3 separate regions of the Homo sapiens genome follow, and regions 1 and 2 are each linked to region 3. The links are contacts of gene promoters, found by promoter capture Hi-C in human tissues and cell types (Jung and others, 2019). All regions are on one chromosome and are shown on one strand. The core of a region is centred on a gene start or on the middle of the fragment in contact, and the rest is flanking DNA. Distances in the headings are between cores, read along the strand shown. Region 1 has its middle 190 kb from the start of CTBP2. Region 2 has its middle 170 kb from the start of CTBP2. Region 3 holds the start of TEX36 (testis expressed 36).

What was found. Contacts are between HindIII fragments. The study calls those that stand out against the background at their distance.
Region 1: a contact is called between a fragment that was not itself captured here and the fragment with the promoter of TEX36 in region 3, in 1 of the 25 tissues and cell types used here (dorsolateral prefrontal cortex).
Region 2: a fragment that was not itself captured here is called in contact with the fragment with the promoter of TEX36 in region 3 in 1 of the 25 tissues and cell types used here (adrenal gland).

Annotation. Positions count from the first base shown.
Region 1 is chr10:125,353,091-125,356,098 of GRCh38, forward strand. No RefSeq gene overlaps it. Among named protein-coding and RNA genes, the nearest start is that of CTBP2, 190 kb to the left of the region's middle. The HindIII fragment of the contact is 7,970 bases long and covers 1-3,008 here.
Region 2 is chr10:125,330,599-125,333,298 of GRCh38, forward strand. No RefSeq gene overlaps it. Among named protein-coding and RNA genes, the nearest start is that of CTBP2, 170 kb to the left of the region's middle. The HindIII fragment of the contact is 3,036 bases long and covers 1-2,700 here.
Region 3 is chr10:125,681,695-125,684,425 of GRCh38, forward strand. It overlaps TEX36 (testis expressed 36), which reads right to left and starts at 1,469. Exons shown (of 4, transcript NM_001128202.3): 1 at 1,245-1,469. The coding sequence starts at 1,295. It overlaps LOC283038 (a long non-coding RNA gene), which reads left to right and starts at 1,549. Exons shown (of 5, transcript NR_033848.1): 1 at 1,549-1,637. The HindIII fragment of the contact is 13,590 bases long and covers 1-2,731 here.

The sequences.
Region 1 (3,008 bases), core at 435-2,934, 330 kb before region 3:
AAACAGATAAAGCTTATGAACAGATAGTTTACAGAAAAAGAAATACAAATTGCTCTTAAACATATGAAAAAATGAGGCTAACCTCATTCACAATATGAGAAATGCAAATAAAAACAGACTTCATTTTTCAACTAATCGATTGGAAGAGAAACATGTTTGATAACACCATTTTGGCGGGCCTCTGGGAAACAGGCATGTTTATATATTGCTGTTGGGTGTGCACATTGGAGCAACCCTTCTGGAGGCTATTTGACAACACCTATCAAAATTAGAAAAGTATATCCCTTTGGCCTTGAATTCCAGTTCTGAGATTTGTCTTACAGATCTACTAGTCCACATGCAAAATGCTGTATATACCAGGTTATTCACTTCAGCATGGTAATCACAAGAGTAGAGACAATCCAAGACCATTGAGAGATGGGTAGTTCAGCAGATGAGGCATCCATACAATGGGATACCATGTTAAAAGAAAGAAGCTCTCTATTAAGGACAATGGAATTCCATGTGTAAAGGAGGAAGACCTCTAAATAAGAAAAGATCTGTAAGATACACAATAATGCAGAACAAAGCAAAGGAGAAGAGTGCATGTAACATGTGAAGGTATGTGTGGGGGTAACCAAAGAATCTATATGAATAGTTGCTTGATCTACATAAAGAAGCCCAGAAGAATACATTAAGAATATCAAAACAGAGTTACCTGTGCGTGGAAATGGAGGTGGGTGGAAATTGAGAGAGGAAGGGATGGCTGGGAAGAAGACTTTTTCCTGGTTACCTTTTCATGCTAAAAAATGTTGATCTTTGTGAATATATTAGCTATTCAAATAATTTAAAACACATCTTAGCTTGTGCTGGGTCTAGTTCTAATTAGAATGCCCTGCCTTCTTCTTAAGCTAGTGATTTGGCAAGGTAGAGCAGAGAGAATTTCTGTTTTGGGAGTTTTCGGTCTTTTCGTTAGTAAAAGAGCAAACAGAAGTTATGTACTAATCCAGGATTTGTGCTTTCTTTCAGTGACTTTTAGTGAAATAAAAGGATTGAAATAGGTTGCCTAACATATTTAGAGTCTCATCTTAGAGGACAGGGTTTTGTAAGGCTAGAACTTGGCAAGTGGGCACAACCAACAGGAAGCAGTTCTGGGTTCCCCTTTTATAGCTTCACAGGCAGAGACAAGAGCTGACAAATCAGAGGGAGCTAGCTGAGGGTTTGGCCAAAAACAATTTAGCAAACTCCAATTTTACCCAACTACCTGGATATTTCAAATAAAAGTATCTTTTAGGTAAAAATGATTCTGGACAATTAACGTGATCCCTTATTTTATGTTGTGTGACTCAACAGAGGATGATTCGTAATCCATGGCCCAGCCCGTGTCCAAATCCCATTGACCCTCTCGTGGGGGCAGGAGCTGTGTGGTGTTTATTCATTCAACATGCAGTTTCTGAGTGAAGAACTGAATAAAAGTAGCAGCTCACCTCTATAATTTCAGCACTTTTGGGAGGCCGAAGCCGGAGGATCACTCGAGCCCAGGAGTTCAAGACCAGCCTGGGCAACACAGTGAGACCCCTTCTCTATACATTTTTTTTTTTTTTAATTAGCTAGACGAGGCCGGGCGCGGTGGCTCACGCCTGTAATCCCAGCACTTTGGGAGGCTGAGGCGGGTGGATCACGAGGTCAGGAGATTGAGACCATCCTGGCTAACACAGTGAAACCCCGTCTCTACTAAAAATACAACAACAACAAAAAATTAGCCGGGTGTAGTGGTGGACGCCTGTAGTCCCGGCTACTCGGGAGGCTGAGGCAGGAGAACGGTGTGAACCCGGGAGGCGGAGCTTGCAGTGAGCCGAGATCGCGCCACTGCACTCCAGCCTGGGCGACAGAGCGAGACTCCATCTCAAAAATAAATAAATACATAAATAAAATTAGCTGGACATGGTGGTGTGTGCCTGTGGTCTCAGCTACTCGGGAGGCTGAGGTGGGAGGATTGCTTGAGACCAGGAGGTTGAGGTTGCAGCAAGCCAAGATTATGCCACTGCACTCTAGCCTGGGCGACAGAGTGAGAACCTGTCTCAAAAAAAAAAAAAAAAAAAAAAAAAAAAGGAAAGGAAGCAATTCTCTGTGTCTCTATCATTTGGCCAGACCTCGAAGCATACAGCCAGCAGGGTGAAAAAGAAATTAACATGTGAGGTGCACAGGTGTGTGGCTGGTGGACCCAGGGTGGTGAGTGGCTCTCCATTAATTAAAGAGAACGTGAGGTGAAGTCGTTGTCTACACGTTACAGACTTTGAGAAATTGTGTCAATAAAGGAGAACTTCATTTGGCCTTAGGTAAGAGCCATTCAATAAATTAGTTGGCTGAGGGTAGAGACGTGCAGGGAGAACCAGGATCTATGTAAAACCAGGGGGGCAGTGAAGAATTAAGAGGGCAGGCAGTGAAGCAAAGGCAAAAAAATTAATAAGATAAAAAGCTGCTCCAGCCCCAGCTTGCATTCCCTGTGATGCATAAACCAGGTGATCTTTGTTAGCCTTGGGAGAGGCAGAGAAGGTGAGAAGTGGGGGCCGATTGTCACAGGACTGTGGCCATCTATTTCCCCCGTGACCGTCTCCATTAGAACAGGATAGAAGTGAGATCAATCAGAAAGCCACCTTCACAGGGAAGACGTCCCGGCCCCGTGTAAATGCGCTGTGAGCTGCTGTTAGTGACGCTAATGTGGTTCCGAGAGGCGTCCTCGCCCAGCCCCAGAGCTGCAGACTGAGGCAGGGCCCGGGGTGCTGAGCTGAGGGGTGTTCCATCACCCGGACAGGGAAGGCAGACGGCCTTGGGCTCCCAGCTGGCCTTGTAAAACTTGAGTCATGGTGACAGAATTCCTTCCATCATCGTTTATGCTGCACCTTCCCGGCTGCATTACTGTTATTTAGCATCCTGCCGTCATCCATAAAGCACCTCGCTGCCATTTGTTCTTTATTTCTCACTCTCCTGAGGTTTGCTGTTCTCATTCCCTGTCTGGAGCAGAGAGG
Region 2 (2,700 bases), core at 86-2,585, 350 kb before region 3:
AACAAATGTGGCCTGCAGAGCTCAATGGCTTCACCAAGGTCAAGAGTGAGTGAATGCCATGGCTGGGGCTGCTCTGGTCCATGTGTTTTCCATGCCAGAGGGTGGCCTCCTAGAGTTCTTTGGTGATGCCTCTAGCTCTGGATGACACCAGGCTGGTGGAGGCAGATCCAATGGACCAGGGATGGAGACCTTCATGCCACTGCTCCCTCTTCATGGCATCCAGAGCTCCAGGAGTCCCTTTGGATCAGACCAAGCCACAGCCACCTTCCAGAAGGAGCCACTGGGGTGGCCATCAAAGGCTTGGGACACACAAGCTTGGGGCAGTGGTCCAGGGGTAAAGGCCTCCAGTCTTAGGGCCTTCCCCTCCTCATGGCCCCTGGGCCTCTCTTCTTACCTTGGGGTGCTGGCTTTTCCTTTGCTGGTTAGACCTGTGGCCCAGGGACTTCACTCAGGGCCACCCCAAGGGAGGAATGATGAGGGTGACCCAGTTCCTCATTGCCGGCCTCTCCACCCTCCACCGTCTGCCTTGCTCTGTAACATTTCTGTGAGCTTCCAGCACACACCAGCAGCCAGCCCATCTTCTGATTAGTTTCAGCCTGGTAAGTCCTTCCTGCCGCTGAACCACCTGTCTCCCGAGAGGACCTACAGCCAACGCCTCCCACACCAGATGGCCACCCCCTCCTGCCCCTCCATAGTGTTCCAGCCAAGGCCAGGCCAGGCATGGACAGAAGAGGACCTGAGCGACTGCAGCCAAGGTCAAAGTGGCCATCTGGACACAGGTATCAGCAGTGTGGAGGGGCTGCCCCAGAAATGGCTTTAGCGGGGGAGATGTTTCTCAGGCATTCAGCTCTTGGTTTTCTATTGGTCTCCCTTCAAAATTGCTTGGGCAGGTGGGCAGAGCACCTGATGGATGCCTTCAGCAGCACCTACTCGGTCAGGGTGGGTCTTCCCTCAGTAACCACTGCAGGCAAACAATCCCATTTCTTTTTCAGTGAGAAGCTTGAGCACCAGGGACCCCTGCCTCTGCTTATTCAAGGCCTATGAGGCATGATGCTCAAGTCCGCAGTCAGCAAACTTCCTGTTCACCCCACAGCTCCTCTTCCCCAGATGCTACCCACCCCCATCTTGAGTTCTGAATATTTTCCAGTGCCATCATACCTAAAGACTTCCTTTTAGCTATTCGATTTGCCCTCCCATGGTGAGTCAGTCAAATTAAAATGTGGGGCTACGTTATTGTACCGAAATATTTACAAAATAGAAAACTGAAGAGGAAACCATGCTTTGTTTTCTGAACAGTTGGAAACCTAAACAGACTTCTTTTCAATTCTCTTATTTTTCCACGTGTACATAAGAAGGCCATTGAGATGGCCTGGCAAGAAGGTTTAGACCAGACCCTCTCCCTTCAGATCCTATTGGTAGGTTATATATTCTGAATTTTTTTTCTTAAAAAAACAAAAAGCCAGAAAACCTCACTGCATTCTGTGTTTCTAAGCCAGCACAACCCATTTCTTATTCTAAGCAAGTGAAGAAACATTTGTCTTCAAGGCCAAGATGTCAGTGTTAAAAAACTGTTTTAGAAAAGAAAATGCAAACCCATAACTCCAAGCCTGGGCAAGGACAGCTACATGCATTAGCTAATGCATAATTGCAGATATTTATTCCCTGCTTTTGCGTTATGCTTTTATTCCCCCCAACAGGAGCTCCAAGTGAAATATTAATAATATTACTACTGTAATATTATTACACATTATTACCCCCACAATGGTAGCTTCAGAAGGGCATCTTTGTTTTCATTCCAATGTGACCTACATTGGATTCATTTTTTCAAAATGGCACCAGAAATGTCTTATCCATTTCCTCAGTAACTGGTGAAATGGAACAAATAAGACCGATCATTTTCTTCTATGAGAGATACGTTTGAGTAAAGCAATCTTGTGCCTATGGGGGATGGTGGGGGTAATTGGCGTAAGTGAATTAAAAGTTGGACTTGCAGTTCTATTGGACTTCAGACAAACATCTATGCTGATTGAACACTGATTTGCTGGCATTCCTCAAATCACAGTTCTGCCATCTCAGCATCCCAACTCTTGCAATCTTTTCCATGTGCTTCTTTATGGATGGGCAAATCACCTGACCGTAGCTGCCTGGAACCAAGCTGGCATTGCAGTTTTGCCATTCTTATTCAGTGTCATCTGATGCCTGCCGTCACTTGCCAGCCTCATTTACACATTGCCAATTCTAGGGGGGAAAATCAAATCTAATTTGAGCACCATTTTATCTGCTTATTTTACCCACAGATGTGAGTCCATTTTTCTGCAGATTATATAAGTATTTAAGTTTTCATTCCAACTGTTTGTCAGCACTTACTACAACAGACAACCAACTAGACAACCCCCACACTGCCAGAAATACCTTTGCGTGAACCTTATTATCAAAAATAGAATGCAATCAAGACCGGTGGAGGTTACAGTAAAGTCACCAAAAATGACTCAAATGTCCCTCTAGGCTAGCTCCTATGTTCTGAAAATATGTGGTGGGTGGAACGAGTCTTTTATGTTCCCAGATTTGGCTCCTCCAAGTGAAATATTAATATTATTACTACTGTTGCATTTGGCAATATGAAGAAGCTTCCAGTAATAAGCTGAACAGACAAAGACATCTGTATTCATGGCAGGTTTTCAGAACCACAATTTATGTGGT
Region 3 (2,731 bases), core at 219-2,718:
TTTTGTGGAATGAAACAAGGTATACATTTGTGTGTATACACGTATATGTACACATACATACAAAGTGTATATATGTTAAGTGGTTTCTATGTGCTCACTCATTGTACTGAGCACTTGTTAATGAGTCGTGAATCCCCCACCATGGTCTTCTACCCTTGGTACATTATGCTCCCATTTTACAGACAAAGAAACTGAGACTTAGAAAGACTAAGCTGCTTAGCCAAGGTTGTATCCAAGTGGGTAGATCAGTTTTTTAAAGCCTTCAGACCCAAATTTGCTGAAGTGTTTTCTGTTTTTCTTTGAAACAAATTAAAATTTTAACAATTTTTTACCTGTTGCTACCCTAAAAGAAGTCGACGTCAGGTTTTTCTCTGATTATGTTTCTCATTGCGAGTCTACTGCTGTGATTTCCCCTTAACATTCTTTTTGTGAATGAATTGTAGAAATCAGAAATGGGAAAGGCTTGAGGCTTGTCGGCCATGAAATATACATGTTGAAGAGCAAAGGAGAGAAGTGCTTGGCCGACAAGGCTAAGACCTCACACTTAGGAGTGACCCAAATGTTTCCTGAAGATGGTAGAAGAGTGAAAAATCCCACAGGCTCTGTAAGTGACATCAGAAGAGCAAGAGTTGGGGGAGAGCGTGAAGCTGGAAAGGGAAAGTTTTCAAGTGATGAAGATGAGTAAATGATGCATTCCTGGACTCTTCTCATTTCATAGGCCGGAGGGGCTAAAGGAATTGGATTGGGAGCCAACAAGAATTTGTTTAGAGGTTTCTAGTATAATATAATTACTTCAACACATATGTATTGAGTGCCTTCTATGCTCCAGATCCTGTTCTAGGCACTGGGGATACATCAGTGAATAAAATAGACAAAAATCCCAGCTCCATGGAGCTTATATTCTAGCAAGGGGAGAAAAATAACATAGATAAGAGAATAAGTTCTGTAGTATGTTAGAAAATAGATGTTAAGGAAGAAAGAAAAAGTAGAGCAGGAATGACTGCTTAGTGGACATTCACGAGGTTCCAGTGTGCTGAGCATTTTACATGCATTATTTCATTCAATCTTTGCAAGAGTGTTAGAGGATTCCCATGTCACAGATGAAGAAACTGAGGTTGAGTAAAGTGAAGTGATTTGTCAAAGGTCATGCTTCAGTAATAGTAGAAGCAGGATTGGAACTCCTCAGACTGTTGACCACACCCACGTGGCATGAGAAAGGCACCAGGGGCCACCATCTTCCTTACCCATCTCCCATCCTTGTCTGAAGGTGGGTTGAAGCGTCGCCCTTTGGTCATTCTCTCCAGGAAGCTGAATGTGGCTGAGATTGGCTCCCTCACCTCTCCATAAGCTCTACATGTCTGGGAAGCTGCTTCCTAAACTTCATAAGCTCTACACGTCTGGGAAGCTCCTCCTCCTCCTTGTTCCTGATCTTTACTTCTCAGCCTCTTCCAGGAGGGGAAGGTGCGGGTGCCCATTGTTGTCATGGAATGGGAACTCACCCATCACAATGGGCAAAGGAGTCTTCTAAACCCTCGGAGGATTCTTGCCACTGGTTCCTTGCAGCTGTGACTCCCCAGGGTAAGAGGCAAAGAGCCACCAGGTCCCAGCTGAGGAAGCCCTGTGGTCAGCTCAGACAGGTAAGGACAAGATGATTTGGGGGTAATGGCAAACATTTTGTACCCTCTCAATTTTTGAACCAATAATGTTTGAGTTGCATGTCCCCCTGGCAACTGTATGTTCCAACCTGTTAGTTTTCAGAGAAGTAAGTTGAGTCCCAGGCTGGGGGTGACCTTGTCTGCATCAGTGGCACTGCTGCACCCAGGACCCACGCTGCCTACCATCTCCTTCTGTGGCAGCCTCTGTGTCTCAGCTCGGACCCAACCTCAGGACTCACTCACAGCCACTCTTACCTGCCTGGCACAGCATTGAGACCATGAGGAAGTAACACTCATGAATAATTATTATATGCCAAGTGCTGTGCTAAACTAAACATTCACCTGTTTTTATTTTTTCTCCACGACAACCTTCAACATTTACAAATAGGAAACAAGGGACATACAGCAATGGATGGGATGCCACAAGTCCCAGCAAGGTCATGGGCCAGCTCCAGAGCTCATGAGCCTTGCCAAGGGCCACCTGGCATCCCCAGGGCTGCAAAGGCTGCTCGTGAAATCTGGCGTTTCTCTCGGGGCCTGGACACACACGTCCTGCCTCCCTTCTACTCAGTAAGGTGTTTTCTGCTTTTCTTTCTTTCTTTTTTTTTTTAATGTTGTGTCTTGCCAATTCTCTTGGCTACTCCGTGTGAATACGAGAGTAAACACATGCAGGACAACCTGTCCAGCTGCTCTCTCACTCAGAAATTGTGTCCTCCACCCTTTCCTCCTCCAGTCACCCTCCTAGGTTTTCCAAGGAGAGTTGCTGTAGTAGTGATAGAGGACCTTATCCACTGCCAGCACTGAAGGGCCAGAGGTGGCCCTTAGATGTGACACCGGAGATGCACAGGTCCTCTTGCACTATGATGCCAAAAGCCACATGGTAAGGAGAGGAGGAAAAGGTGGTGGGCCACCTCTTTTGGTGTTGCAGAGCTGCTGTACCAGGCAATACTGTTGTGTGTGGAGTAAACCCTTCCAGGATTTCTGCTACCTGCTGACAAACCCAGTGCAACAGACACTATTTTTCACCTTTACCAGGCATTGCCCACTGCTCTCCAAAGCCCAGGTGTAAAGAAATA